Linked DNA regions of Homo sapiens: region 2 is linked to region 1. Evidence: promoter capture Hi-C in human tissues and cell types (Jung and others, 2019). All regions are on one chromosome and are shown on one strand. The core of a region is centred on a gene start or on the middle of the fragment in contact, and the rest is flanking DNA. Distances in the headings are between cores, read along the strand shown. Region 1 holds the start of RBM46 (RNA binding motif protein 46). Region 2 overlaps LOC124900169 (a long non-coding RNA gene).

Evidence for each region. Contacts are between HindIII fragments. The study calls those that stand out against the background at their distance.
Region 2: a contact is called between a fragment that was not itself captured here and the fragment with the promoter of RBM46 in region 1, in 3 of the 25 tissues and cell types used here (heart left ventricle, ovary and thymus).

Annotation. Positions count from the first base shown.
Region 1 is chr4:154,778,688-154,786,069 of GRCh38, reverse strand. It overlaps RBM46 (RNA binding motif protein 46), which reads right to left and starts at 4,798. Exons shown (of 5, transcript NM_144979.5): 1 at 4,634-4,798. LOC105377500 (a long non-coding RNA gene) reads left to right here and starts at 4,197. Exons shown (of 4, transcript NR_188451.1): 1 at 4,197-4,281. The HindIII fragment of the contact is 6,453 bases long and covers 2,305-7,382 here.
Region 2 is chr4:154,730,865-154,738,246 of GRCh38, reverse strand. It overlaps LOC124900169 (a long non-coding RNA gene), which reads right to left. Exons shown (of 6, transcript XR_007058343.1): 5 at 6,461-6,564; 6 at 2,112-2,220. Among named protein-coding and RNA genes, the nearest start is that of LRAT, 9.4 kb to the left of the region's middle. The HindIII fragment of the contact is 4,930 bases long and covers 1,799-6,728 here.

The DNA.
Region 1 (7,382 bases), core at 3,549-6,048:
CTTTCAGTCTTTTGTCTTTTAAAAAATTCAATATTTTTCTATCACCATTCCTTTAAAATTAAGAGCATTTTAAGTGATATAACCACCTTTCTCAACACTGTTTGACTCTAGGTTTTGCCATTAAACCATCACTGAATATTTTGTAGTAATATTACAACTGCAAGTGGACCTTAGATGACCTCCAATACTGTAGACAAGAAAACCAAAAGTAAATACGGTGAAGAGTCCTGCTTAAAGTCACAAAATTAGTAATCGAAAAGACCAAGGGCCCAAACCATGGAGCCTCAGAAATTCATAACTCTGAACTCTCTTCAATAATTTAGTCCAGAGAGTCTTCAATGGCCTCGACATCCCACAGGACATCATACTGGCCCACTACACTAAAGATCATGTTGATAAAATGTGAATAGGGAATTGTGACATTTGTATTTTTTTAAACATGCTACAGGAAAAACAGTGAGAGAAAAAACAAGAATCTAGTTAAGACTGTTGCAAAAGTTTTTGCCATTAAAAGTAATGGCAAAAACTGTGATTACTTTTGCACCAATCTTAATATGGTACCTTACATATGCTACTTACTGGTTATAGAAATAATAAATATGCTCCCGTTTTATCCAAAATGTAGAATTTAACTTAATAAACAAGACTTTTTTTTTTTTTAACTACAATTCACAGCTAGCTCCAAATGGCTGATTTCTGCAATCCAACCCATCTCTACAATTACCTTACAGACCTATTTTTTGGGTTAATTCATGTCTCTAAAGTTCTATTTTTAAAGAGATTATTTAGGTTCTTACAATGAAATAACATGCCAGTCCATACACATTAAAGGCTCCTTTTACTAGATAATGACTAGAAACATATGCTAGACTTTGTACATCTCAAGAAATCTCAATCAAAATATTATGAAAGCTTGAAATTACAGAAGTAAAAGACACACTGAAGAGTCACCAATCCTATATTCTCTTTAGAAAAAAAAACCCTTATCTCAAAGCCTCCAAAACAAAATATATGCACGTGTATAATTCACAAGAAAGTTCAAAATTACCTAACTTTAACATATTAATTTAACAAAAGTTTATTTCTAAAAGAGGCAAAATTCAAGAATAGCCAGAGAAATATAATCAAATCTAAAACAAGCATACAATACATTCATTCTAAAATACTCCAGAATCAACCTGTTACCTAAATATCCAAGAAAGCACATCTGTCCTATACATTAAAGCAAAACTGACATACCAATTGAGGCTTCCAGACTTAATTTGTCCTCTGCCACTTTCAGGTGTGAAGTCACACTACAAAGCGTTCTAAAAACTTATTTCCTTACCCTGCTGACCCAAGTAATCCAAGTAAGAGAAGGAGGGATCCTGAGTAGAATGTCAAAAATGGTTTTGCAGACAAAGTGGGAATGAGAAATTAAAAGTTGTGCCATATTTAACTCTAGCTTTCAGATATGTATTTTTTTCCCTAAACTGTAGACTTTCAAAGATTCCTCTCTAGCTCACTTTCAAAAGAAAAAATAGAAGGAAAAAACCTCTCTAAGGTATGAAGCAAAAGGCCAAGACAGGATAGCAAATCACAAGCTATTCAAGTAACAATGTGAATCAAGCCTTTATCTTTAAGTGCTAACTATATCTCCTTTAATTTTAACCTTCTTAACAATTATCAAAAATATGTATTTTCAAATTTGTACTGCCATTCAAAAATAGAAAGTATATTAATGAAAAAAGACAAGCACAATTTAAGCAAAACATTAATGAAAATTATTTAAAGGAACTGTGTCAGCTGTATTAAAACTACTTCAACTGAAACTTCATCTTCCAAGTTACTGTAAAAATTTAGAAAGCTGTGAAAGAGAACATTATATAATCTTACTGTGGGTTTTAAAAACTCAATGTAATAATGAAAAAAATTAAGAATATCAAAGCGTGCCTTTATAGGGGCACATTAAATGTTTATGACATTTCTTGAATTACATGGTACTAAACTCCTGATTTGTTAGCACTGTTGTCATTGAGTATGGTACATGGAAACCATGGTTGCCAGGTCAATGGTTGCCAGGTCAATGGAGGTTTTCTGTTTGTTTTTAAGCAGCAATTCATTTTAGTGACAGACTGCACTACAGCCACTACACTTCTCGTTCTTGGAAAACGAGAAGAGTTAATCAAAAGTGTGTGGACATGGAAGTCTAAAATTATTTCGAAATAAGTGTACAGATGGATCAGTTCAATTCCATTTTAAGTTGTTTTTATTAAAGAATGAGAGCACATTTTATTGCTAGAAGTTAAATATATAATGGATAAAAGTTTTAATATTAAGTTTAAATTCTGAATGACTTAAAAATTGAACTATTTAAAAAAACTGTAACTAATACTTTTAAAAAATACTGCTTTGAACACAAAGGTGTATATGCTGTTTGAATTCAGGATAAAGATATCTACATATTCTTGTCCAAATTAAGTACACCATTCCTTACACAAGGTCCTTCATAATCTGTTATTTTAAATCTGTTACCAATTTGAACATAGAGATCACATTTTCTTGCCTCATCAATCATCGGGTAGTAAAATGAGAAATAACATTCGGCATTAATATGCAAATCTGGACAATTTTTACAGCAATTACTTGATTTGTAGTCACAAACTCTACTTAAACTGACATGTCTTCCTTCTCCTAACAATAAAATAACACCATTAAACCTGAGACTTAATTTCAGTCCATAAACTGGGTTTGTTCTCGTTATTAATAATTCTTGTTTCATAATATATCCAGTAATGCATATATTTTAAGTGTTGATATGTATTATATTTGGCAATAATATTCAAGTACATTACTCCAACCTCTTAAGTGAAAATCAGCAATCAAAGCAGTGCCTTAAGCAGAAAGCATTAATATTTAGTGATTGCAGGCAGCACTGTCATCTTTATGTCTATAAAGATGCAAACAAATTTTATTAACAATGCAAACAAATGCAGACAGATGCAAACAAAGTTTAAAGTAGAATGTTTTAAACGTGTGCCCTGAAAACAAGTCTATTATTAGACCCCCATAAGGAGATTCAATTCTGAAAAGATCCAAATGGAAGTCTGTCAAACTGTATATACATCGTGGTGATTCTTGAAACGAAAATATCTTCCCATTATTTAAATAAGCAAAATTCTACAGACCCTTGAACATGTCCTTTATATGTTATTCTCCTTATACACGCAACATATCCTGCTTCCTGGTTATAACGCCATTCTCAAACACAAAATCAGGCCAATTTTTAAGAGAAGCCAAGACTTAAAAAGCTCGGCGGCGATGGCTCACGCCTGTAATCCCAGCACTTGGGGAGGCCGAAGCGGGTGGATCATGAGGTCCAGAGATCGAGACCATCCTGGCCAACATGGTGAAACCCTGTCTCTACTAATACAAAAATCAGCTGTGCGTGGTGGCGCGCGCCTGTAGTCCCAGCTACTCCCGAGAGTTTGAGGCAGGAGAATCGCTTGAACCCGGTAGGCGGAAGTTGCAGTCAGCCGAGATCCTGCCACTGCTCTCCCGCCTGGGAGACAGAGCGAGACTCCGTCTCAAAACAAAACAAAAAACAAAACAAAAAAACTCCTTATGATATTTCCTCTTTGATATTTGCCTATATTAGGATTACCACATAACATAAAGGTTACGGGGAATTTATCAAGAATGTAAAGACAGTTAAAGCTTAAAGAACTTAAATATTACCTAAGCTAAATTTACATAGGAGAAAACTGGTGCCCAAATAAATCAAGCAGCTTCGCAATATCTCAGAATATCAACGCCAGGATTAAATGCCGCTGGTTCTGTGGTTTTTCCAGCAGCTCCAAAGAAACATTTTTAAATTAGGGGTTTAAAAACTACCAGATGTTAGGAAACAAAGGCGGTGCCACGACGTGTGCTGCCGTCCGTGTGTCGGGGGAGAGGCGAGCTATCTTCCCTGTGCACCCGCGGCCTCCCACTGCCCACAGCCCAGCACACACGAGGTACTCGGGGAAGAAACAGGGAGACAAAGGCAAAGTAAAGTTCGAGGCTCAGTCCCGGCTAGAACTCCACGCAAACGACTAGGAGCCCGCTAAAGCTCACCCAGCCTGAATTCAATTCTGAAACCAGACTGCTGAATCTCACCCAGCCGTCGGGACGCCCCAGACGGCGTCCAAAGCCTCCAGGGGACGCGCGGACCCTACAACGGCCAGGCAGCGGCCCGGGCCTGCAGCGGTCGTTGGTCGTCGGCGTAAGCGTGTCAGGAAAATAACACGAAATGCAGCACAGGTGGGAAGCGGCCGGAAGGCAGCGGGGGAGAGCGGAAATAAGGCGGAGAGCGCAGGGCGCCGCGGGGCGGAAGAGGCCGCCAGACGCCCCAAAGAGACTGGCCGCTGGGCCCTCACCATGCAGCGCCTGGGTGACGGCGAGGGCGCCTTCTGGCCGGATGCTGCCGGGGCAGGAAGCAGCGTCTCGGACACTTGCCCTCCCACTGCTCGACGGGGCTGGGGAAGGACGAGGGTGAACCCCGCAGCCACCGCCGCCAGCCCCCACTGTGTATTCGGCGTGAGAGTGAGCCGGGCACTATCCAGCCGTTAGCAGTGGTCTGGTAGTGACCCCGTTTCCCCTTTCCCCTCCTCACCCCTTCGGGTCTTCAAATGTTGGTCCTAAATCCCGGGGCCCAACGACCAAAAACCGCCGCCACCGTTTAGGGGACCAGTCGGTCAGAGCGAGGGGGGGTCGTCGCAGGGGGAGGGTAGCCCACCGGGACCGCTCGCGCTGGTCCTCGTGTCTCCACTCGTTTCCCAGCGCGCAGCGCGCGCGGTGGCCTAAGCAGCCCCACGAGGAGTGGTGCCTCATCCAATCAGGGATTAGCTTCGGGGCGGGGCGAGGAGGAGAGAGTGGGGCTAAAGTTTAAATGAGGCTCTTGGGCTAGTCAAAGTGCTTGGAGTGACAGGCATTTCGAGCAATTGGGGTGAAGAGAGCGATTTTTAGGGTGTGGGTGGGCACGGAATAATAAATGAAGGTCCTAGGTGCATTGTTTAGGTGTTTGAAGACGAGGGCTGCAGTGTGAAATTCCGCACTTAAGGGAAAACATAGATGCATCGTAATGGTTCTTTTTCTTGTTTGATGTAGTTTTCTTGTAAACTGCTAGTTTGGCGCAAAACAACCACATATATCCGGTGGACCTTTGAAATTAAGGGCTAGGGGGAGGTGGGTTATAAAGCTAAAAGATGGATTTGCAAATAGGACTAGAAGTATAAAGTATAAGTGGTTTAAATGACAATGACTAAGAAAATGGGTTAGATGAGGAGAACTAGCGATAGGCTTGACGCTACCACTAATCAGCTTGCAGGGACATTTGGCAGAGGCGAACTGCCGAACTGGGTTCTATGCTCTTGTAAAACCAACTTTCACAGATAGGGTTGTTTGGCATTCGGTATGCATAACTTCAGTTTTGCTTCCTTTGAAGACAGCTCGAAATTAAATGCAGACAAGGAAAGAAAAAACCACCTTTAGGAACCAACTATTTATGTATAGATAATATTAGATTCATGGAATATTAGACAATAAAGAACCTAGCTCATGTTGATTCTCTAATTAACAAGGAACTTCATGCCCAGAATATTCACCGAGTAACACAGATCTCCTTATTCCCAACCTCAAGGTGATTTCTTCCACATTAACTCCTAATGTATTTTCTCCATATATTCAAGGAACTAATGAATGTCTACCAATTTAAATTTTGTTAAAGTATATTTTTAATTTTTAAATATACTACAACAGTGAGGAATTAGCAGGGACTTTGGAGCCAGACAGACCCTGTTTAAAGTGGGGATTGTGAGAATAAAATAATATATGATATTACCAAATATTGAGCCAGATGCCAGAAACAATCCTAAGGACTTTTCATATTTTCATTTAATTCTCACAGTAACTTTGGTAAAGTTACTAGCCCTACTTTGCAGACGGGGAAACAGATGCAGAAACCTTAAGTAGTTTGGGCAAAGTCATATAGCAAGTAAGTGGCTCCAGTTTGAAACCTACAGACATAATTGCTATACTATACTGTCTCAAAATACGTCCAGAAACAAGTAGAAAACTTGGCATAGTACTTGATGCACACTGGAAGCTCAACAAATATTTTTTGTAAGCCGTCTGCCCTTTAGTCAATGAATACAAGTGTCATTTTATATAAGATGTATGCATTCAAAATAAAGCAACTAGAAAACCTAGACTGATAGATCTAGTTGGCTTTGTTTGACATGTCACCAATTCTGTACCTCGGGAACTGTGATTGTTATATTGATTACTATTTTTTGCTGCTCTTTTATTTCTCCAGAAAAAGATTCTCCTCATTCTTCATTTTCATGTCGGTACCTTCTCAATTCCTAGTAATTAATTCTAAATACATGTGTTTAAGGTTAAATTATCTGAAATGAGGTTAGGCATATTAGTGGCAATTTAAAACAAGTAATTTCTAGGAATGGCTGTAAGATCCTTAAGGAGTCACTAGGTGGAGATGTTGTGAGGTACAAAGATTGTTCTTGGAAATAGCCTGGAAGGTTGTTGAACATTGCTGGTTTTCTTGTTTCCCTTTTTGTCTTTTTTCTCCCCAAGTATAAAGAAAACCAAATAGACAAGGGCTTCTCAATAGGCATTACAGTCAGACCATAGAACCTTGCCATAGATGAGACAGTGTTGTTTAAAGACCCTTCCCATACTTAACATTGTATGTCATTTTGGTTAGATTTTGTCTAAGTTTTTATTATCCTAAAGTTTATTAATAGGTATACTTTTCAAATGCTATAAAAACTATTGTCTGCATGTACAATTAAAGAAATGACCTTTAACTTTATTTCTCAAGGCTCCCAGAGAAAGAGATCCAAAACACTTTTATCAGCTAGAATTCTTCAGTAACAGATTCCAAATTGGATTTGTTTTAAGATTATTTGAGCTTATGGGAAAAGGTGACCCAAATGAGTAAGAAGGAAGATGATAAGCAATGTAAAGGTGTTTGTGACTAAAAAGAAGTGTCGAAAGATACTTGGCATACAAGGGAGAAAATAGAAGGGGATCTCTGCAAACACCAGAAAGAGAAATAATAGTGACTGTGTGACATGGGAAGTAAAAGTTATCAATAAAAAATTGGAAGGAGCCGGGTGTGGTGGCACACACCTGTAGTCCTAACTACTTTGAGTTAGGCTGAGACAAGAGGATCACTTAAGCCCAGGAGTTTGAGGCTGCAGTGAGCTATGACCGTGCCACAGCACTCCAGCCTGGATGACAGAGCGAAACCCTGTCTCAAAAAAAAAAAAAAAAAAAAGGAAGAGATGCAAAATTCAAGTGGTTAAAAATAGTCTGAATACATGTATTTTCCCCATATAAAA
Region 2 (7,382 bases), core at 3,014-5,513, 47 kb after region 1:
ATAGATATGAATATTGGATGACCCAGGATTGTTAACAAAAGGAAATATGACTATAGCCTTTGGCTACGTATTCAGAAATTCAGAAGAAAGCTGCAGTGCCACTGTATTCATATAGGAAATGTACTGAGAAATTGGGTATTGCTATCATCAAACAGACCAGCATTGAGAAGCATCAGTACTACCAACTACCACAGCAGCAATGAATGTTGCTATTATATTTCAAAAATCCTAAATAGGTAGACATTTTAGAGACATGAAGACAAATAACTTTTAATGTCATGCTTTGCTTTAAATACTCATATCTGATGCTCTGTGAGATTGCTGACCCTCTTGAGGCCTCAGAGCCCTCATGTGTATAGTGTCCTGCCTGTGCTAGACTGGAATGAGATGCTCTCTAAACCCCTCCAAGGGTTCATGGAGCACCGGGCCTACAAAAATCAAATTACTCAGGCCCTTCAGAGTGTCTTAACTGCTAGTCAATTTTCAGGGGAGTAATTATAAGAAAAAGAAGATCAATCACTGTCTAGTACTTAGAAAACCTAATAGGATCCATAATAACTGTTTTAAAAGGAAAAAAGAAGTCATTCATACTGCAGTAAAGGAGTAATTCCATAGCAAAACAAGAAGAGATTGAGCAGGAGTTTGGCAGCAATTGGTGTTGAAAATCAATGGCTCCTTTAATAATGTATCTTCAATTGCAGAGAAATTTTAAGTGACATAGGCACACTATCTCATCAATGATTTGTAGCAATACTTATTGTTGATATGTTTTTTGAAAATACAATGTCTAATATCTAAAGTTAATCTGAAAGGTCAGTGTACCATTCTGGTCTTTTGTAGTTACATTTACTTTTTCAAATGTTTAAAAATTTTTTAGTTCAAAGTAACAATTGTACAGTATCATGGGGTACATAGTGATGTTTTGATACATATCATGCATAGTGATCAGATCAGGGTAATTAGCATATCCATCATCTCAAACATTTATCATTTATTTGTGTTGAGAACACTCAACATCCTCCTTCTAGCTATTTGAAACTACATAATATTATTAACTATAGTCATCCTACAGTGTTATAAATATACTCTTATCTCACACCATGCTAAAAATTCAATGTAGTTCAACTGAAGCTGATTCATACCTAAAAGTCTCATACAACTATAGAAAAAAAAATGGATTTTTGTCTCCAACTTCTTAATTGGGAGAACTCCAAGTGGGCAGCTCTCTTAAGAACCAAGCTGCCTGTGTTTGCCTCTGTAGGTACAAACTACACACTTGACTTAAGTACACTTATTTTTATCCTGGTTTCCCTCTACAGTGACTTGCCTTTAAGTCAGATTACGTAGAATTACTTTCATTTTATTAACATCCAGACTTTACTCATAAAGAATGTGAGTGGAACTGAAATTGGATCACATAGGATTAATTTTTTAAAATTCAGTAACCTTTTCTTTCTTTCTTTTTTTTTTTTGATGGAGTCTCACTCTGCCACCAGGCTGGAGGGCAGTGGCATGATCTCGGCTCACTGCAACATCTGCCTTCTGGGTTCAAGCAATTCTCCTGCCTCAGCTTCCCGTGTAGCTGGGACTACAGGCATACGCCACCATGCCCAGCTAATTTTCGTATTTTTAGTAGAGACAGGGTTTCACCATGTTGGCCAGGATGGCCTCAATCTCTTGACCTTGTGATCCGCCTGCCTCGGCCTCCAAAAGTGCTGGGATTACAGGCGTGAGCCACAGTGCCAACCCAACCTTTTTCTTTAAAGATAAATTAAAAACCTATAAAGTTTTTAATCTACATAGCAGTTTAAACCAGAAATCACAGGCATTTTTAAAGTTCACCTAGTTTAACTTTCAAAAAGAATAATCTAGAATATTTGCCCTTTGGTCATAATTATTTCATGTTGTAACATACATTACACTTGTTCTTTTGCATCTGTCATTCTTTTATCTCATTTAATTCTAGGGTGTTGGAATCCGGAAGGGAGGGCTCTAGTTTTTTTCTGTGATATCCTCTAAGGACATTGTATTAGTCCGTTTTCGCATGTTTGATAAAGACATACCCAAGACTAGGCAATTTACAAAGGAAGAGATTTAATTGGACTTACAGTTCCACATATCTGGGGAAGCCTCACAATCATGGTGGAAGGCAAGGAGGAGCAAGTCATGTCTTACATGAATGACAGCAGGCAAAGACAGAGAACTTGTGCAGCAGAACTCCTGTTTTTAAAACCATCAGATCTCGTGAGACTTATTCACTATCACAAGAACAACATGGGAACGACTTGCCCCCATGATTCAATTACCTCCCACTGTGTCCCTCCCACAACACTTGGGAATTCAAGATTAGATTTGGGTGGGGACACAGCCAAACCATATCAGATATTATTATGATGGGTCTAATTGTCAGAGGCCAAATGGCATCTCAAAAATCATCCCTGAATACCTTAGAACCTAGGAAATCAGGGTCACAATCAGCAGGGAGAGTGACCTGGGGTCTCTTAGATCATGAGTTTTATCCAACTGTGACCTGCCTCCTGCAGAAGAGCAAGTAACCAAACCAATAATGCTGTGAACCTCAGGGTGCCAGGCCACACTCAGCAGGTCCTTACCTATAGAGGGGTCTGTAGAGGATGGCCCTGGAACCAGGTCCAAAGGTTTAGCCAGACTTAGAAATCCTCTAGATTGTTATTAGATTTCCTCCTTTTAGTCCTGTGTCACCCAGAATATTGGCACAACCTACTTCATGATTCTAAGCAAATCAGTTGAACTCTTTGTGCCCTGGTCCACTCATCACAGAAAAAGCAATAGATACTATCCATTACTCCCCTGCTGGTGACTCTCATCGTCAATTCAGCTTCTGAACCTTCCTGGAATTCAATCTAGTGATAGCTGTAGATGGTCATTCTCACATCTCACTGCCAAGTCCAGTATAAGATGACAAAGTCCAAACTCTCTTTCTGTTTCCTTAAATTATGTCTCCTCTTACATTTGTTTTTATTTCTTTTGAAAGGGACTGGATTTTCTTGTATGTCTTTTAGGGCTGCACCATTTGGTTTCCAAATAACAATTCTTCTATTTTTCATCTTTTTTAAAAAAAGTACGTGGTGCTTAATTATAATTTAACCAAGTATTTTGCTTTATAGGTGAAATTATAGAAATCTTGAAGATTTCTCTCTACTCGTTTATGAATCCTCCAATGTAAAATGTCTAGCAGAGGTTTATTCTTTTTTCAGAAAACCAAATTCAAGAAGAATAAAGAGTAATTACTGATATTACAAAAGAAAGATTAATTGTCAAGAAGCTATTTTAATTATGTGCTTTACCAAAAATGTGACTTTATATAACTCATTTTAGCAATATTATCTAGAAATGGATCTTCCTTGAGTAAGGCAACATATTCATAAGAATGTGTTCTGAGTTCACAGTGGGCATTCAATAAAGTTTTTGCTTACAATTTTATCTAACAGTTATATTGTAAGTTACACTTATTTGGATTAGTTAAGAATTTTAACTCTCTTGGCTTATATTCCATAATTATTCCTATTTAAAATTTACATTTATTACCTTGGGTAAGTAGTCATCTCTCCAATTCAAAGTCCCTTTTGACTCAAAACTTCTACACTTCTTTGAGAAAGTCAAAAGCAATACATATTTTATTTAACTATTTTAAAATTACAAATTATGTATAAAAATTATATCAATAAAACATTCCCATATTTACATAGCCAAATAGATTTAAACGTACTGACATAAATTTATCTGTTCCTGAAAACACATGTGTTGTTGCTACCAAATAAGGAAGACAAAAGGGTAGGCTGGGACAGCACACTACAAATGGAAAAAGTGTGGGATGATGGTTAAGAATGTCTACTCTGTAGCTAACTTGCCTGGATTCAAATCCTGGCTCTTCTACTTCCTAGCTTTGTGACCTTTGGCAAGTTACTTAACTACTCTGTCTCAGTTACCTCCTCTCTAAGGTGAGGATGATGATAAAGATGAAGCCTACCTCATAAGGTTGTTATAAGGATTAAATGAATTAATATGTATGTATTACAAAAGCAGCACTTAGTAAGAACTCAAGAAATGATGGCTATGTATATTTTTCTTCTAGAATACATAAAGCAATCTCTTCATTGCCTATAACTCTCATGTAAATTTGGAAAAGGTGACAAAGAGCCGTAGGGCAGTAGGAAATTCTGTAAATGGGGATGGGAGAATTCTAGGCTTGAATCCACTTCAACAGGTATTTATTGAACATTTAGTCTCAAGTTCCATGTGGACATTCCAAAACACAGCAATGAATGAAATGCAGTCCCCTCCCTAATAGAACACAGAGCCTGGTAAGGAGGAAACAGACCTCAATAAACTTTCATAATTCTGTGTGATGTGTTGGAAAAGGATCATGCACTAAAGGTGAGAAATTCATCTACTTGGGGTAGGGAATGTGAGAGAATGAGTAGCTCCTAAGCAGTACCATGAGGAGTCAGAGTTTGTTAGATCTACAGGGGTAGGCATGTGGGTACCAAGAGGGCAGGCAAAGGAAGCAGCATGAACAAAGATGAGATTTAAATAGTCCAGCTCAACTAGAATATAGGACTTATACCTCTCTACGGGTAGAGGTCAAATCCACACTGGGAGCTTGTGGGGCCCGGGTTGTGAAGGGCCTCCTGTGCCATGTGGGGAGCTCAGACTTTATTCTGTAGGTAATCAATAGCCATGAGGGACATTCAAGAAGGGGAATGATGTGATCCAAAGCAACTGTGGAGCAGAGACCAATTAAAAGGTCACTTAGTAGTCCAGGGAAAAGATGAAAAGGGGCCAGATTAAGGTAATGGAAAACAAGATGGAGGAGCACGTAAAAAAGTTAAAGATATTTTTGGTGACCAACTGGATGTAGTGGTGGTGGCAGAAGTGGGAAGAAGAATAAAATGGAACCAGGGATGACTCTGGGCAAAGAGTGAAACCCTTCATAGGAATGGGGAAGGTAGGAGAAAAAGCAGGTTTTACAGGAGGAACAAATGAGTTCACTCTCGGACATGTTGAGTTTCAGGAGTCTATGGCTTTTCAAGTTGGGATGTTAAGTAGGTGGATACATAGATTAAACAAGATCTCTGGAGAGAAGTATGGCCATAGGATACAGATTTGGGAGTCAGAAGTGTGTGGGTGCTACTACTTTGGAGTAGACAAAACTGCCCAGGGATAACACATAGAACGTGGTGAGAAGGCAGCCAGGATAGAGCCCTGCATAAAGGGAAGGCAGCACTAAGGAGTCAGCCAAGATGCTGGGGAAGGAATGAGAGGTAGGAGATGGCCAGGCCGAACAAAGTCTTATTAGGAGAGGCATGTTCAGTCGTGTCAAACAAAGAGGAGTTAGCAAGAGCGTCAAGAGACCATTTGATTAGGCAATAAGGAAGGCACTAGTGTGAAAATAGTTTCATGAGTACCTGACTGCTGAGGGTTGAGGGAGTGAGAGTTAGGCCAAGGGAAGGGCTAGGCAAAGAACAGACAAGCTTTTCTAAAGGTTTTGCAGTAAAGAAAATGAGAAATAGAGGATAAAATGGAAAATATTTTTTATTGTTATTTGCTTTTTCAATTTTCACTTTTTACATTTTTTATGGTTTTTTTTATTGCTATTTTTTTGAGATGGGGTCTCTCTGTGTTACCCAGGCTGGAGTGCAGTGGCACAATCTCGACTCACTGCAGCCTCGACTTCCCAGGCTCAGGTGATCCTCCCACTTCAGTCTTCCAAGTAGCTGGGACTACAAGCATGCATAACCAGGTATTTTTTTTTTCTTTTGTAGAGACAGGATCTTACTATGTTTCCCCAGCTGGTCACAAATGCCTAAGCTCAAGCAATTTTCCTGCCTTTGGCCTCCCAAAGTGCTGGGAGGTGTTACAGGTGTGAGCCACTGCACCTGGCCTACTTTTAATTTTTAAATTTGTTTTAAATGGAGAACACAGGAGGATATTTGTACATAAAAGGAGACTCAATGGAGAAGAAAAACACAGCTAAATAAATAAATAAATAAATGATGGAAATCAGTCCAGAGGAGGTGGGAAGCCATGGGATCAAAACTGCAGATGGAAGTTAGAACTGATGAGGAGGAAGGACTTCTGTTCCTCTGAGACAGGAAAGGAGGAAGGAGATTAAGAAGTGTAGCTCCAGAAACATTTGGAAGTGAAGTCAAAAAGGGTTTGTTCCTACCCACTTTAGTTTGTAAAGTAGATTCTGAAGAAGTAAAATCCTAAACCCAACCAGTTGGTGAGGTCATCTACCAGCCCATGTAGATGACTCAAAGCTTGATGTAACCAGGAAATTTATGGAAGTTATTGATGTGTAATAAATTGACAGAGTGACAGTAGTAGGTCATTTGCTTATATTACAAATCTTCATGAAAAACAAGTTTTAATTCTATTCCTATTTAGAGCATTAATAATTGTAGAAAATTTTACATACATGTTCCCAAAAGCTTGATCTTTCTTTCTCCTAGTTTGTTATAACAGTAAGTTCTCCCTTAGTGCTGTCAATCTTCAGTATCAAACTAGGCATGTGGCAGGATGCTGGTGAGAGAATCATATTAATGATAGACACTAGGAAAATTTAGGCTCAGAGTAATTTGTTAAAATTTGTAATCACATTTTTATTGCATAAAATCACTGTAATATCATTATCATAGTATGTACTATAGAAGAGAAAATATGTGTAGTTAATTGAAAGTGGTTAAATGTCCTCTGGGCTAAAATGCAAAAAATTTTATAGCAAACCTTGAATTTAATTTGAGCTCAAAGTATTAGGTCACTGTACCATTCATTTTTTAAACTCTGACTGAGATAGATAAAATATTCAGATTTCTCCATTTCTCCAAATTTAGTACAAGAATCTTATGAAAGCATTAAAATTGTGTAAGTAATTGTTAGATTGCTTCTTATACAAAAAATATTTATACATTATATGTATAATGTATACAATGTAATGTAAGCTTATAATAATGTATTTGTAATGTAATCTTATACATGCAAATTGCTTGTAGTAAATAATAAGATGTCTGCACATTTAAAAAGAAGAGTAAGATACTCTTAAATGAGGACAAGAATAGTACAGCTTGGATTTGGGCATCAGAGAAAGATACTCTAAACGTGAATATATTAAACAAATCACAGTTTATCAAAGTTTTTAAGTATATGCTTTACAGAAAAAAGAACATCTTCATCGAATGCCTATAGGAGATATATATATGTGTGTGTGTGTATATATATGTATATATGTATATATATGTGTATATATATATGTGTATATACATATATGGGACAAGAAGACATATATATATCATATATATATGAGACAAGAAGATATATATACATATACATATATATGTATA